2 separate regions of the Homo sapiens genome follow, and region 1 is linked to region 2. Evidence: promoter capture Hi-C in 16 types of primary human blood cells and fetal thymus (Javierre and others, 2016). All regions are on one chromosome and are shown on one strand. The core of a region is centred on a gene start or on the middle of the fragment in contact, and the rest is flanking DNA. Distances in the headings are between cores, read along the strand shown.

The links. The method cuts DNA at HindIII sites, captures the fragments that hold promoters and counts their contacts. A CHiCAGO score of 5 or more calls a contact.
Region 1: a contact is called between a fragment that was not itself captured here and the fragment with the promoter of SLC22A12 in region 2, in 1 of 17 cell types (M1 macrophages). The highest score is 5.3, in M1 macrophages.

The regions. Positions count from the first base shown.
Region 1 is chr11:64,512,843-64,519,370 of GRCh38, reverse strand. No RefSeq gene overlaps it. Among named protein-coding and RNA genes, the nearest start is that of SLC22A11, 40 kb to the left of the region's middle. The HindIII fragment of the contact is 1,095 bases long and covers 3,180-4,274 here.
Region 2 is chr11:64,586,861-64,593,297 of GRCh38, reverse strand. It overlaps SLC22A12 (solute carrier family 22 member 12), which reads right to left and starts at 2,078. Exons shown (of 10, transcript NM_144585.4): 1 at 1,340-2,078; 2 at 416-519. The coding sequence starts at 1,741. The HindIII fragment of the contact is 38,603 bases long and covers 1-4,338 here.

The DNA of each region.
Region 1 (6,528 bases), core at 2,478-4,977, 76 kb after region 2:
TCTGGGCAATGGTAACTGATTGGGCTGGTTCGTCAGAGACTTGGAAGGAACGAGATTGGAAGATCAGAAAAAAATGGCCTGGGAAAGAGTGATGGGAATGAGCAAATGGGAGTGAGCACATTGTCTTACGTCAACACCACCGCTGGCCCCCTGAAATTATCAACTGCAGATGAAGCACTGAAGAACCAGATAGAAAAGGTGACTCAGCCAGCAGAGCTCAACCAGCCTCTGCCCACAGCCACCTCTGCACTTGCACAATGAGTGTGTGCAAGGAGTCGCCACGGTGGTGGGTTGGGAGACCGTGCATGGGTTCACTCCATCTGTGCCTGGAGTCCGGCTCACAAAGGCTGATCCAGCTTCGGCTAAACACCTGCGTGTTCAGGAGCAGAGACTAACGCTAGGCCCTCATTATGGTGTTGTCCCTGGAGGAGACCAACTCGCTATGTGACAGCAGCTTGGTTGCATTTAATCCCCCTACACTGGAGGGAGCAGCAAGCCCTCTGGACCAGAATTGACCCCTACTCCAGGTAGGATTTTACCTTGCCTGACTGCAGGGCTCCAGCTAGTACTCTGGACTCATGTGAGTCTGCGGACTCACGGGGTGTCTAATTTGCCATTATGGGATTGCAAATAACATGGCCTTGAACTGAGAGAATCAAATTACAGCAAAATAGTTGTGATGATGGGCAGGACAAGAGGACCCACTAGGGTCTCCATCTAAGCATCTGCCGGCTGGGTGGAATGTTTGGGGAAGAAACCAGTTTGGGGAAGACACCCTAGGGCACTGGGACACTGAGTTGGAAGGTGCGATCTATACTCTGAACCAATGGCCACCCCATGGTGTGTGTCCCTTATAGTGAGAGGACCCAAGGGGTGAAAGTAGGGGTGGAAGTAGGGGCGGAAGCTCTCACCATCATCCGCAGGACTCCCTGGCGAATTTGTTTCCCATCTCCACGACTTCAAGCTCTGCTTGGACTAGGGGTGTTATTTCCCACTGGGGAAGGGGAATGCTTCAATGGGGACATGTTAAGGACTCCAGTTAGTAGGTGGCATTTGGTGAGGGTGGTTGTATGCTGCCATGTAATAGGAGCAGGAAGGACTTTGTCTGAAGACTGAGGAATTCGCTGCAGCCCCTCCTGGTGCTTGGTATGGTAATAAGTCTGAACGGGCAACTGCAGCAGCCATGGCCTCGCCAGGTGTGGTGACCAGGGGCTCAGACACCTCAGGGATGAAGTCTGCATCACCCCACCAGGCAAGCCACCAAGACCAGCAGAAGTACAGGCCCAGGGTGCAGGGAATCCAGAATAGTTGGTAGAGGAAAGAGATAATGAATGTCAGGTATGGCCCTGGGACCCACTGAGGCGGCAGGGACTGCACTTCGTCCTGCTAATATTCCGGTTGTATTATTTTTTCTTTTTTTGAGAAAGGGTCTCACTCTGTCGCCCAGGCTGCAGGAATGCAGTGGCACAATCACAGCTCACTGCAGCCTCCACCTACTGTGCTCAAGTGATCCTCTCACCTCAGCCTCCCAAGTAGCTGGGACTACAGGTGTGCACCACCATGCCCAGCTAATTGTTTTATTTATTTAGTGGAGACTGGGGTCTCACTATGTTGCCCAGGTTGGTCTTGAGTTCTTGGGCTCAAGTGATCCTCCTGCCCCAGGCTTCCAAAGTGCTGGCACTACAGGCATGAACCACCACACCTGACCTGCCTGTTATTTTTTAGAAATTGTGATAGGCCACAACCTTGAAGAAGCAGGGATGGAGCAGAGTCAACTTTACTTGCAGCATGAGTGCATCTGAGCTGTTCAAGGGGTGAATGATGGCAGATGTTCCCTTAGGTGCCCCACCCAAGTCTCCTCAGCCCTCACTGTTCCAGTGCATGCTGGTGGCATCCTTTTCAAGTGTCTGTCTAAAGGCTCTGTCCCAATGCACAGGGAGAAGACTGGAAGTGCCTGGAAATTAATTCCCCTGCAACATCCTTGCAACATCAGCCAATGATGAAAAGAAGTTTGAAAATAAATACCTCCAGACTGGAATAGCCCCCATGCATGTTCTGCACTGTCTCCAGAGTTCCTCTGCTTTGCATTTCTGTGGCTCACATTGACACTTGCTTGGTAATGCATCCATGGACTTCCTTTACTTTCCTCTTTGGACTTTTACTGTATAGTGTCTACATTCCATTTCACCAATTCTCTCTTCAACTGTGTTCAGTATGTTCTGCAGTCTATACATTGAGTCTTTAATATCAATAATAATACTTTCAGTTCTAGGAATTCTATTAGCTTTTTAAAAAATGTGCCTAGTTATGTTTGAAGTCTCTTATATCTTACTCATGTTTTCAATCCATCTTTTATTTCTTTTAACAGTATAAATATAGTCTGTTTAAAATGTTACATTCATTAATTCTGATACAGGAGCCTTTGGGCTCTGTTTTAATTTTAGCTATCCTAGAAGCTGACCCTGACACAAGTATTTGTGTACAACTTGATTGTTTTCGTAGTCTTAGGAAGCACTAATAGGAGAATGGAGAAGTTTATAGAGGAAAAAAGAAGAAGAAATTATGGGCAAATGAACGGGTGTGATGTGGATAATTCTTAACAAGATGTATAGACTGTATAAAATAGTAATATATTACTTATTTTGAAAGATTAAAAAAACAAACTAAAGCTAAGGCAACTTTTTGTAGTCACTGTAATTCGCCAATGAAATATAAGATGGAATAAGGTGAACTGAAGTGTTCAAACGTCATTGAATTGTTTTTCATAAGCAAGTGGGTCCGTTATTAAACTATTGTCTCATTTCCAAACCAGCCTTCTGTATTCGGTTTTGTGATACTGGTGATGGAACTCTGCAAACATTTCTGCTTTGACAGTCACATCCCTGTTAGGGTCTGCCAATAGGGGGCACTAGAGAGAGACTAACAAGCTGGGCTGGAAGAAGGGACCTGCTCCTTCCAGTTGGCTTCCTGTTCTGATGAGCATCCTCCCAGCAGAGCTGCTTCACCCTGGCTGCAGCAGTTCCTGCAGCTGTGAAATCCAGCTTGCAGTTTTTTAGACATTTGCAAACCAATTTCGTCTTGTCCCCTCTCTATCCCACAGATACACCAGCACCCACCAGAGTTTCTCCTCAGAAGTCTGGGTCCCAAGCCCAGGGGGCCTCTCCTTTAATTACTAAGCTTTAATAATTCCAGCTTCTTCCCTTTGCTCCCTCAGCCCTGGGGGTGGCAGCTGCTGCCTGTGGTTGCTAATCCCTTGATAGGCTACATTTCTCTTTTTTACCATTTTATTTACCTAGTTAACAACTGTTTATCTAGTTAACAATTATTTATATTAAATCCTCTCTGTTCAGATAACTGGGGTGGTTCCTGTCTCTTGACTGTGTGCTAACTGATGCAGCTTCAGAAATTAATAAATTTCTAAAACCTGGAAGAATACAATACTGGAAAAATAAAAACAGTACTTCTTAAAATAAAAGCACTGAGTGAACATAGCATAATTATTTTATAAGATTGAAATGGGAGAAGCCCTTACCAACTATAACACAAAGTTAAGAGGCACAAAAGAAATAAAAAATGAAGAAATTTGACTATATAAATTAAAACATTTCTGGGCTGGGTGCAGTGGCTTACACCCAGTACTTTGGGAGGCTGAGGTGGGAGGATTACTTGAGCTGAGGAGTTTGAGACCAGCCTGGGCAACATAATGACACCTGTCTCTACAAATAATGTTTTCTAAATTAGCTGGGCATTGTGATGTGCACCTGTGGTCCCAGTTATTCAGGAGACTGAGGTAGGAGGATCACCTGAGCCCAAGAAGTCAAGACTGCAGTGAGCCATGATTGTGCCACAGCACTCCAGCCTGGGTGACAGAGATCCTGTATAAAAAAAAAAAAAAATCTGAATGGGAAAAGATGACTTTAAGTAAAATCAAAAAATAGTCAAATTGGAGAAAATAAGTATAATTAATCAAAGACTAATATGTAAAGAACTTCTATAAATAAACAAGAAAGAGGCTAATCACCAAAAGAAAAAATGTCAAAGGGGATGAGTAAACTATTCATTTAAAAAATACAAATAACTTTTTAAAAATAACCTTTTATATTTTGGAATAATTTTAGATTTACAGAAAAATTACAATGATAATACAAAGATTTTCTGTACACCTTTCTTTCAGTTCCCCTAATGCTAACATCTTACATAATAACTGTGGTGTATTTGTCAAAATTAAGGTATTAGCATTAGCACATTCATTACTATTAACCAAATTATAAGCTTTGTTCATATTCTACTAATTTTTCTCAATAATTCCCTTCTCTGTCCCAGGCTCATATCTAGAGTGCCACTCACATGTATGTGTCTCTTTGGTGTCCCCTGGTTGGTGACAGTATCTCCATCTGTCTTTGTTTATCATAACCTCGACAGTTTTGAAGAGTAGTGGTCGGGTATCTCATAGAATGTCCCTCAGTTTAGGATTGTCTGACTTTTTTCATGACTAGAGAGGGGATATGAGTTTAAGGACTCCCTTCATCACATCACAGCAGGGGGTGTGTGTGGTACTCACGTGGCATCATTGGTGATGTTGACCATCATCACGTGGTTTGGATGGTGTCTGCAGTTTCCTCCACGGTAAAGCTACTGTTGTTGCTTCCCATCTTCTATTCTTAGGAAGCCAATCACTAAATCCAGCCCACACTCAAGGGGAGGGGAATTAAACTTCACCATCTACGGGGTGGATATCTACATATATTTTTGGGATTCTTCTATAAGGAAGATTTGTCCCTTCTCCCCCCATTTATTTATTTATTCAATCATTTATTTATATGTGGACTGACGTATATGTATTTATATGTGGACTTATGTATATTTATTTATATGTGAGCTGATGGATATTTATTTATATGTGGACTGATGTATATTTATTTATATGTGGACTGATGTATATTTATTTATATGTGGACTGATGTATATTTATTTATATGCGGACTGATGTATATTTATTTATATGTGGACTGATGTATATTATATGTGGACTGACGTATATTTATTTATGTGTGAACTGATGTATATTTATTTATATGCAGGCTGATGTATATTCATTTATATGTGGACTGATGTATATTTATTTATACGTGGACTGATGTATATTTATTTAATACGTTGGGCTATGGTCCAGCACTACATTATTTATTTTGCTGCTCAAGTGGTTCTTAGGCTGCTGGGAGCCTTTGCAGTTGGTTCCCATGAGCCTTTGACATAACCCCGTCACTGTGGGTTGTTCTGGTTTTGTTGTGTTTTGAGTGCTTCCTTGCTTCCAACACTGAAAGATGCTCCAGGCTGATCTTGTATATTCCCTGCCCCAGACCTAGAATCAGCCATTTCTCCAAGGATCCCCAGTTCCTTTCACTGGAGAATGGCATTTCAAAACCAAGATCTGTATAAATTAATTTAAAACATGAAAATATGCTCAACCTCACTTACAATAACAGAAATATCAATAAAGCTAGAATGATACTGTTATTCACTAATAGATCAACAAAGAACCAAGATTTGATAGGACGTTCTGTTGGAAAAGCCAGGAGGTAAATAGGACCTCTCACTCTACGCTGCTCTAGGTAGATACGGCACAGCCTCAATGGAAAGCATTTGGCAACAGCTGTCAAAATTGATATGCACATATGCTTTGATTTAGCAACTCCACTTCTACCGACCTGCTTGCTGCCTATGAAATAATGGGTAAAAGAAAGGGTTTTTATTGCAATGTTGTTTATAAATTTCAAAGAACTATAAACAACATAAATATATATCAATAGAGAACCTGACATTTAGATTATGGTTCATCAAATTCAATGGAATACAATGCATTTGTAAAAACAAATGAGGAAGCTCTTCACATACTGATGCCAAATGATCTCTAAGACATTTTTCTAAGGACAAGCTAAAACACACTTCAGAGCTGAAGGAGTAAGGTTTGTCTAGGAAAAGCAATATATGCATATTTACACACATACATAATATATATTTCTATATTCATATATACACATTTTACTTTGTGTGCATAAACTTTACCTGGATGGACTCTCAGCTAATGAATAATAGTAATTGCCTATGGGTGGCTGGCTGGGGGACAGGAGTAGAAAAAATAGTTTTCCTTGTAGACTTTTTATGCGTTTTGAATATTGAAACTTTTGAATGTATTACCTACCCTTTCATCAAAAAACAAATTAACACTATGCCTCTAAGTCATTCATGAGTCCATTGAGAAATCATAGTGGAAATCTCTAATACTCAGAACTGAATGGTGGTGAAAATACTACCCACCAAAACTTGTGGGATGCCACCAAAGCAATACTTGTAGGGAAATTCGTAACCATAATGTTCCTATTTGCGAAGAAAATAGGCTGAAAATGGATGGATGTTCCAAATGAGGTCACTGAAAGAGAGGTGGCTCAGGTGGGTTTTTGTTTGTTTGTTTGTTTTAAGACAGGGTCTCACTCTGTCGCCCGGGCTAGAGTGCAGTGCCGTGATCGT
Region 2 (6,437 bases), core at 829-3,328:
GGACACTGAAGCGGCACCTGGGTGAAACCTACATTCTCCACCTACGGAACCCTCCGGAGCACAAGGAGAGTCCCGAGGCCAGAGCCAAAGGGAATGGGCTCCAGTCACCAGGAGCACTCAGGTTGCTGCTGAAGGAAGGCGCATGGCCAAGCCAGTTTTAGCAGTGAATGTTTGCTGGGGAGCAGAAATCCTCTACAACCCCCAGAGTAAAGTTGGTGAACTCGAGGTTCAGAGAAGGTTCCAGACCTCCCTACCTGGCACGGCTGCAGGGTGGCTGGTCCGAGACCCACACCCAGCAAGTAGGGCGCTTTCTAGACTTGGTTTTGTGAGGCTGGTTTGGGGCCAGTCGGCCAGGGTCCTAGGAGAGCAGGGGTTGTGAGGGGAACTGGGACCTGCCTGGACTGGGGGTACTCACCTGTCTGAGGCAGGGCCGCACGCAGCAGCTCCCACCAGAATCCCAGCCAGGTAGATGGACTGGGCCATGGGCTTCAGAGCATGAGAGTCACACACGAGGTTCCACTGATGGGAGAGGAGGAGGCTGAGCTCAGGAGGTTGGGAGAGCCCCAGCAGAGAGGCAGAGGAACCGCATGGGAGGGCCCCCAGGGAGCTGGGTGCGGTGGGTGGTCTGGTGACCTCTAGGGTTTTAGAGCAAGACCCTGTGGAACAGTGAGGGCACCCACAGGCATAGTTTGGCCTTTTGAGGAGTATATCCTGCCACCCTCTGCCTGAACTCTTCCATGGCTCCCTATTGCCCAATGGGTCTCTAGCCACATCTGCCCCTCTCTCCTGTCTCTCCACTTGGAAGCAGCCACCCAAGCTGACACCCTCACCCCTCTCCCAGAGGTTGCTTCCCTCCTGTTCTTTATAAAGAGGTTCTTCCCACTTGTTGGGATGAGCTGCCCCTCTCTGCTTGCCTGGCTTTGCCTGGCGCCCCATCTGGGAGGCAGCCTGGGGTAATCCCTTACTCTGTGTGCTTTGGTCTCGGGGAATCCAGTGAATTGTCACTGAGTCCCCCTGCTGCTGAGTTGCCTGGAGTCACGGCTGACAGGTCAGCAGGGCCAGGACAGGGTGAGGCCGGTGAGTGTCCAGGTGCCAGCATTTAGAGGTGCCCGCCCAGGTGCCCCCCGCACCTCCAAGAGCCTGGGCTGGCCCCATTTGTAGACTGATCCCTGCCGCCCACTTCCCTGTGTGTGGCTGACGAGGGGCTGAGAGGCTCGAGAGTGAGTGGGGCCTGGGGAGGTGGGTCCCTCCCAGGACTGGACCTTTGAGTCTGACCCACCGTGATCCATGACTGACCTCCAAGGTGGTGGGACTCGAGTGGCTCTGGGGGAGGCCCTACCTTGGCCACGATTGTGGAGGTGAAGATGCTGCGGTCATAGACCCAGCCATCCACACACGGCTCCGTGTCGGCCTCGCTCCAGCTGGTGGCCGTGGCATTGGGGTCCAAGAGCTGCCACTGTGGCTGGCGGAAGCGGCGGCACTGGTGGGGCCTCTGGTTGGGGCCCGGCGGGATGGAAATAGCCAGGAGGGCCTCAGGACTCAAGCTCCCTAGGATGCTGGCCTGAGCCGTGCTGTTGTCCAGGAGGGGTGCCCAGCAGCGGTGGCTGGGCACGGCGGCCGAGAAGTTCTCCAGCATGCTCTGGGTACACAGCCACATGATGGAGACCATCAGAGCCATCGTCTGGAGAACCTGGAACCTGCCCAGGCCACCCACGAGGTCCAGGAGTTCAGAAAATGCCATGGAACCTACTCAAGGGGCCCAGAAGAGGGGCCCACTTCACAAAGGCTGGCCCAGGGCAAAGAGGCCAGGGCAACGGGCCTGTTTCCCCCACGGTGGTGCCCACAGTGGCTTCTCCAGCCCAGCGGCTAGGCTTCACAGACTCGGGGCCGGAGGCTCAGGCTCTCTGGTCATCTGCCTGCTGGTGTCACTTGGGGTGGCTCCAACTGGGCCCTGAGGCCGCGTGAGGTGATTCCGAGACCTCCAGCATCTCCCCAGAGAGGCAGCTGCTCCAGACCTCCCGGGAAAGCTGAATTTGGAAAGTAGGGAATGTGGAGACTGAAGACTTTAATTTTAGACTGGAATTAAAGTGTGACCGGTGACACTTATGGAATCGAGTTTAGCAATCATTTCCTTGGTCAAAGTTTAACCCGCGTTGAGGCAGGCACAGACGCGAGGGAGGTGCAGCCTCCTCTGCTTGGGGGCCAGGGCCGGCCTGCTCTGTGCCAGGTCTTGGGGAGGCCTAAGTTTTTCTCCTGGCGGCTGTGGGATGCCAGGGCTGCCTGCTCCCTTCGGTGCCCCTGTGTGCCCACCTCCCAGAGTGGCTGAGCCAAGAGAAGGTGGGCCAGGGGATCCCCCTAATTTGGGGCTGGGGCAGCTGTGCAAGTCTCTGTGTGGGCTTGGGTCACTGGCAGCTGCCCAGCCCCTGCGCCTCCCAGGCTGTGTGGCCTGGCCCCACCCGTGGCTCCTGCCTCCACTCACCTGCTGTGGTTGGCGTCCTGTGCCCGCTTTGCTGTTACCCTGTCCTGAGTCCTCGGTGGAGCTTCCCAGCATCAACAGACACCCCACAGACTCCCCAGGTTCGGTGTGCCCAATGCCACCCTGAGATCTCTGTCCCCTCCCCAAATCTATGCCTCCTGCAGAGCCCCACCTCAGCTATGGCCTCTCATGTCACAGTGTCTGGCCTGGAACCCAGCGTCTTGGTTCACGCCTCCTGCTCCCTGCCTCCCAAATCCACCAGGGGCCAAGCCTGGCTAGTTTTGCCTCCTAAGGATTTCTCTCTCCCACCTCCCCCACTCCACAGCTGTCCCTGCCCTTGTCTTTCTGCCTCAACTCCTGCCCCTGGACCCACCACGCACTGCGAGCCCTTGGGTCAAATCCTGCTTAAAAGCCAAGGGGCTCCCAGTCAACAACAGCTAGTGGTGACTTACTAGGGCAGGTGAGTGGACAGCAGTGTGTGCTGATGCAGGGTGTGGGGTTCAGGAAAGGCTGGACCGAGGCCAAGAGAACCCCCTTGGTCTCGATAGCTAATTCTGTAGGCGAAAGGGCCAGAGAACACAAAGCAGTTAAAAAGTGTGTGTGCATGGCCGGGCGTGGTGGCTCATGCCTGTAATCCCAGCACTTTGGGAGGCCGAGGTGGGGGGATCACTTGAGGTCAAGAGTTCAAGACCAGCTTGGCCAACATGGCAAAAACCCATCTCTACTAAAAATACAAAAGTTAGCTGAGCATGGTCGTGGTGCACAGCTGTAATTCCAGCTACTTGGGAGGCTGAGGCAGGAGAATCTCTTGAACCCAGGAGGCAGAGGTTGCAGCAAGCTGAGATTGCACCACTGCCCTCCAGCCTGGTTGACAGAGAAAGACTCTTATCTCAAAAAAAAAAAAAAAAAGAAAAGAAAAAAAAGAAGTGTATGTATATGTGGGTGTGTGCACATGTCTGTGTATGTGTGCACATGTGTTTGCACAAGTGCATGTGTGTACATGTGTGCATGCGTATATGTGCAGTGCAGCAGTGATGGCAACCCAGGTGTTTGCTCTTATGAGCTTTGGGCATAAAACTCTCCATTTGAGGCATAAATGCCCCTCCCATCTGCTTCTTTTTGCTTCACCGACTCTTCCCGCTGCCCCTCCACATGGCTTACCAAGCCAACTTCTTTGCCTCCCTGGGCTCTGCACCTTGAGTCATCCACTGCTTCCACCACATGCCCTGTACATGCTTTCTCAGTTCCCACCCTTGCTTATGTTGGACCTCCAGCCTGGAATGCTGTCTCCAGGCTCACCCTTAGGCCACATACTGTGTGGAATGGGCACAGTCCAAATACTCCTCCTCCAGCGGGCTCTCTTCACTTATTCCTGCCTACAACTAGGGCTCAGAGTTGTCAGTGGAATCTCATCTTTACACTGTCCTGCATTCTTCTCAAACTCCTGACCTCAGGTGATCTGCCTGCCTTGGCCTCCCAAAGTGGTGTGAGTTGCGGCACCCAGCCATGACCTGCATTCTTCTATTATGGTCCAGTTGGTCTTATTTCCAGTGAGCTCCTGGTAGTCTGGAACCCTTCTTTAGAGGCTCTTTGGAACTGATTTGGACAACAAATAAAGGTTCCATGGAGACTTGCTGAAGTGCATGGATGATTTTTTTAAAAATTTCATTTATTTTCTAATTATGAAATAATTTACACACTTCCTCAAAAATTCAGAACATATTGAAATGAAAATAAAGATCCCTCATATACTCATCAACCAGTGAGTTACACTACTGTTTACAGTTTGGTGTAAATATGTGCAGACTTTGTTTTAGTAACTGATATGTTTAGCTTCATCAGCTTGAGCTGCCAAATAAGCTTTACATTTCCTTTTGTAAAATCCAAAAGAAATACCTCTGCCTTTTAATTAGCGATTTTAACCTGTTCACATTTATTGTAATTATTGACATGTTTGGACTTACTGTATGTTTTCTTGTTTACCACATTTTCCCTTTAAATCTTGGTTTCCTTGTTCCTAATTTCTACTGAATCCATTAAGTTTTCTTGTTATATTCTTCTACTGTCTTGGTCTGTCAGTTGTACGTTTTATTTCTGTTACCCTTATATTTGAACACACAAACCAGGGGTTATTTGATACCATCTTCTCTCTTCAAACCTACCACCTTCTCTTCTATCCTCTCTCTCAATAGATGACCTTTTTTCTTATTTCACTAAAACAATAGAAGCCATCAGAAGCCAACAGTCTAATTCTCTCACCAGCTCACCTGCCTTGGTGCCCCCACATTCTGCCTTCCTTCCACCCAGTTTGGTTTCTCTCTCATCCATGCCAACCCCTCACTGTGTGCCTAGAGCCCACCCCCCTTTGCCTGCTCACATCTCTCTTTGGCATTTGTCTTTCCCTCGCTACTGGATAATTTCCACCAATGTACAAATATGCCATTTTTTTCTGTAGCCTTCCAAAAACTCCCCCTCCATTTGAGCCCCTCTTTCTTCTTAAGCGACTGCCCCACCTTTGCTTGTATTTACAACAAAATTCTATGAAAGTATTATTGACACTCATTTCCAGTTTCTGTCTTCCCATTTTTTTGTTTGTTTTTGGATTCATTCCCATCAAGGTTTTGCCCCTATCACTCTGCTGTCACCAATGACCTCCATGCTGCTAGATTCAATGACATTTTCAGTCCTCATCTTACTTGAGCCATCTGTCTCTGATCTCCATCTGAGAATACTTTCTTCCCTGGGCCTCCAGGACTCACTAGTTCTCAATCTTCTTGGTTGGGTTTTCCTCTTCTCCACACACTGTTAACATTGGAGGCCACTGAGCTCACTCCTTGGTCTTCTCTATATTCTCTATCATCTGGTCCATTCACATCTTTAGCCTGTACCTCTTCTTGGAATGCTAGATTTTGATCCAACTGCCTAATCTTAGGTGCTTAATAAACATCTCACACTTAGTGTGGCCAAAGCTGAGCTCTCCCAAAAAAATGCTTCTCATGCAGCTTTCTCCACTTTTTTTTTTTTAAGTTGAGTCAGAGTCTTGCTCTGTTGCCCAGGCTGGAGTGCAGTGGCGCCATCTTGGCCCATTGCAGTCTCCACTGCCCAGGTTCAAGCAATTCTCATGCCTCAGCCTCCTAAGTAGCTGGGTCTATAGGCATGTGCCACCATGCCCAGCTAATTTTTGTATTTTTAATATCGATGGGGTTTCACCATGTTGGCCAGGCTGGTCTCGAACTCCTGGCCTCAACTGATCTGCCCACCTCGGCCTCCCAAAGTACTGGGATTATAGGCATGAGCCACTGCACCCAGCCCCAAATCACCAGCATTTTAATTTCAGAATGTGTAATTTCCATTTCAGAATCCGTGTTTGGTTCTTCCTATAACTGCTTCTTCTTGTTTCCTAGTTTCCACTTCTTGTTTCATAGGTGGAATAATTTCCTTGATCTCTTAGTGGATATTACGAGTGTTTCTCTTGGGCCAGGCGTGGTGGCTCACGGCCGGAATCCCAGCACTTTGGGAGGCCGAGGCGAGTGGATCACTTGAGGTCAGGAGTTTGAGACCAGCCTGGCCAACATGGGGAAACCCTGCCTCTAGTAAAAATACAAAAATTAGCCAGAGGTGGTGGCACACACCTGTAATCCCAGCTACCAGGGTTGCTGAGGCAGGAGAATTGCTTGAATCCATGAGGCGGAGGTTGCAGTGGAGCCAAGATCACGCCACTGCACTCCAGCCTGGGTGACAGAGCAAGATTCTGTCTCAAAAAAAAAAAAAAAAAAAAAAGAAGAGTGTCTTTCTTCTTAATATCAATATTCATTTGTTGAGCTGAGTGTTGATAATGCACCAGCCACTGCTCTAGGCACAGGGATGCAGCGGTGAACAAACAAGATAATTCCCTGTTCTCATTGATATGTAGAAAGACATGCCAATGAGAGAGGAGAAACACATCAAGAAATAAATGAAT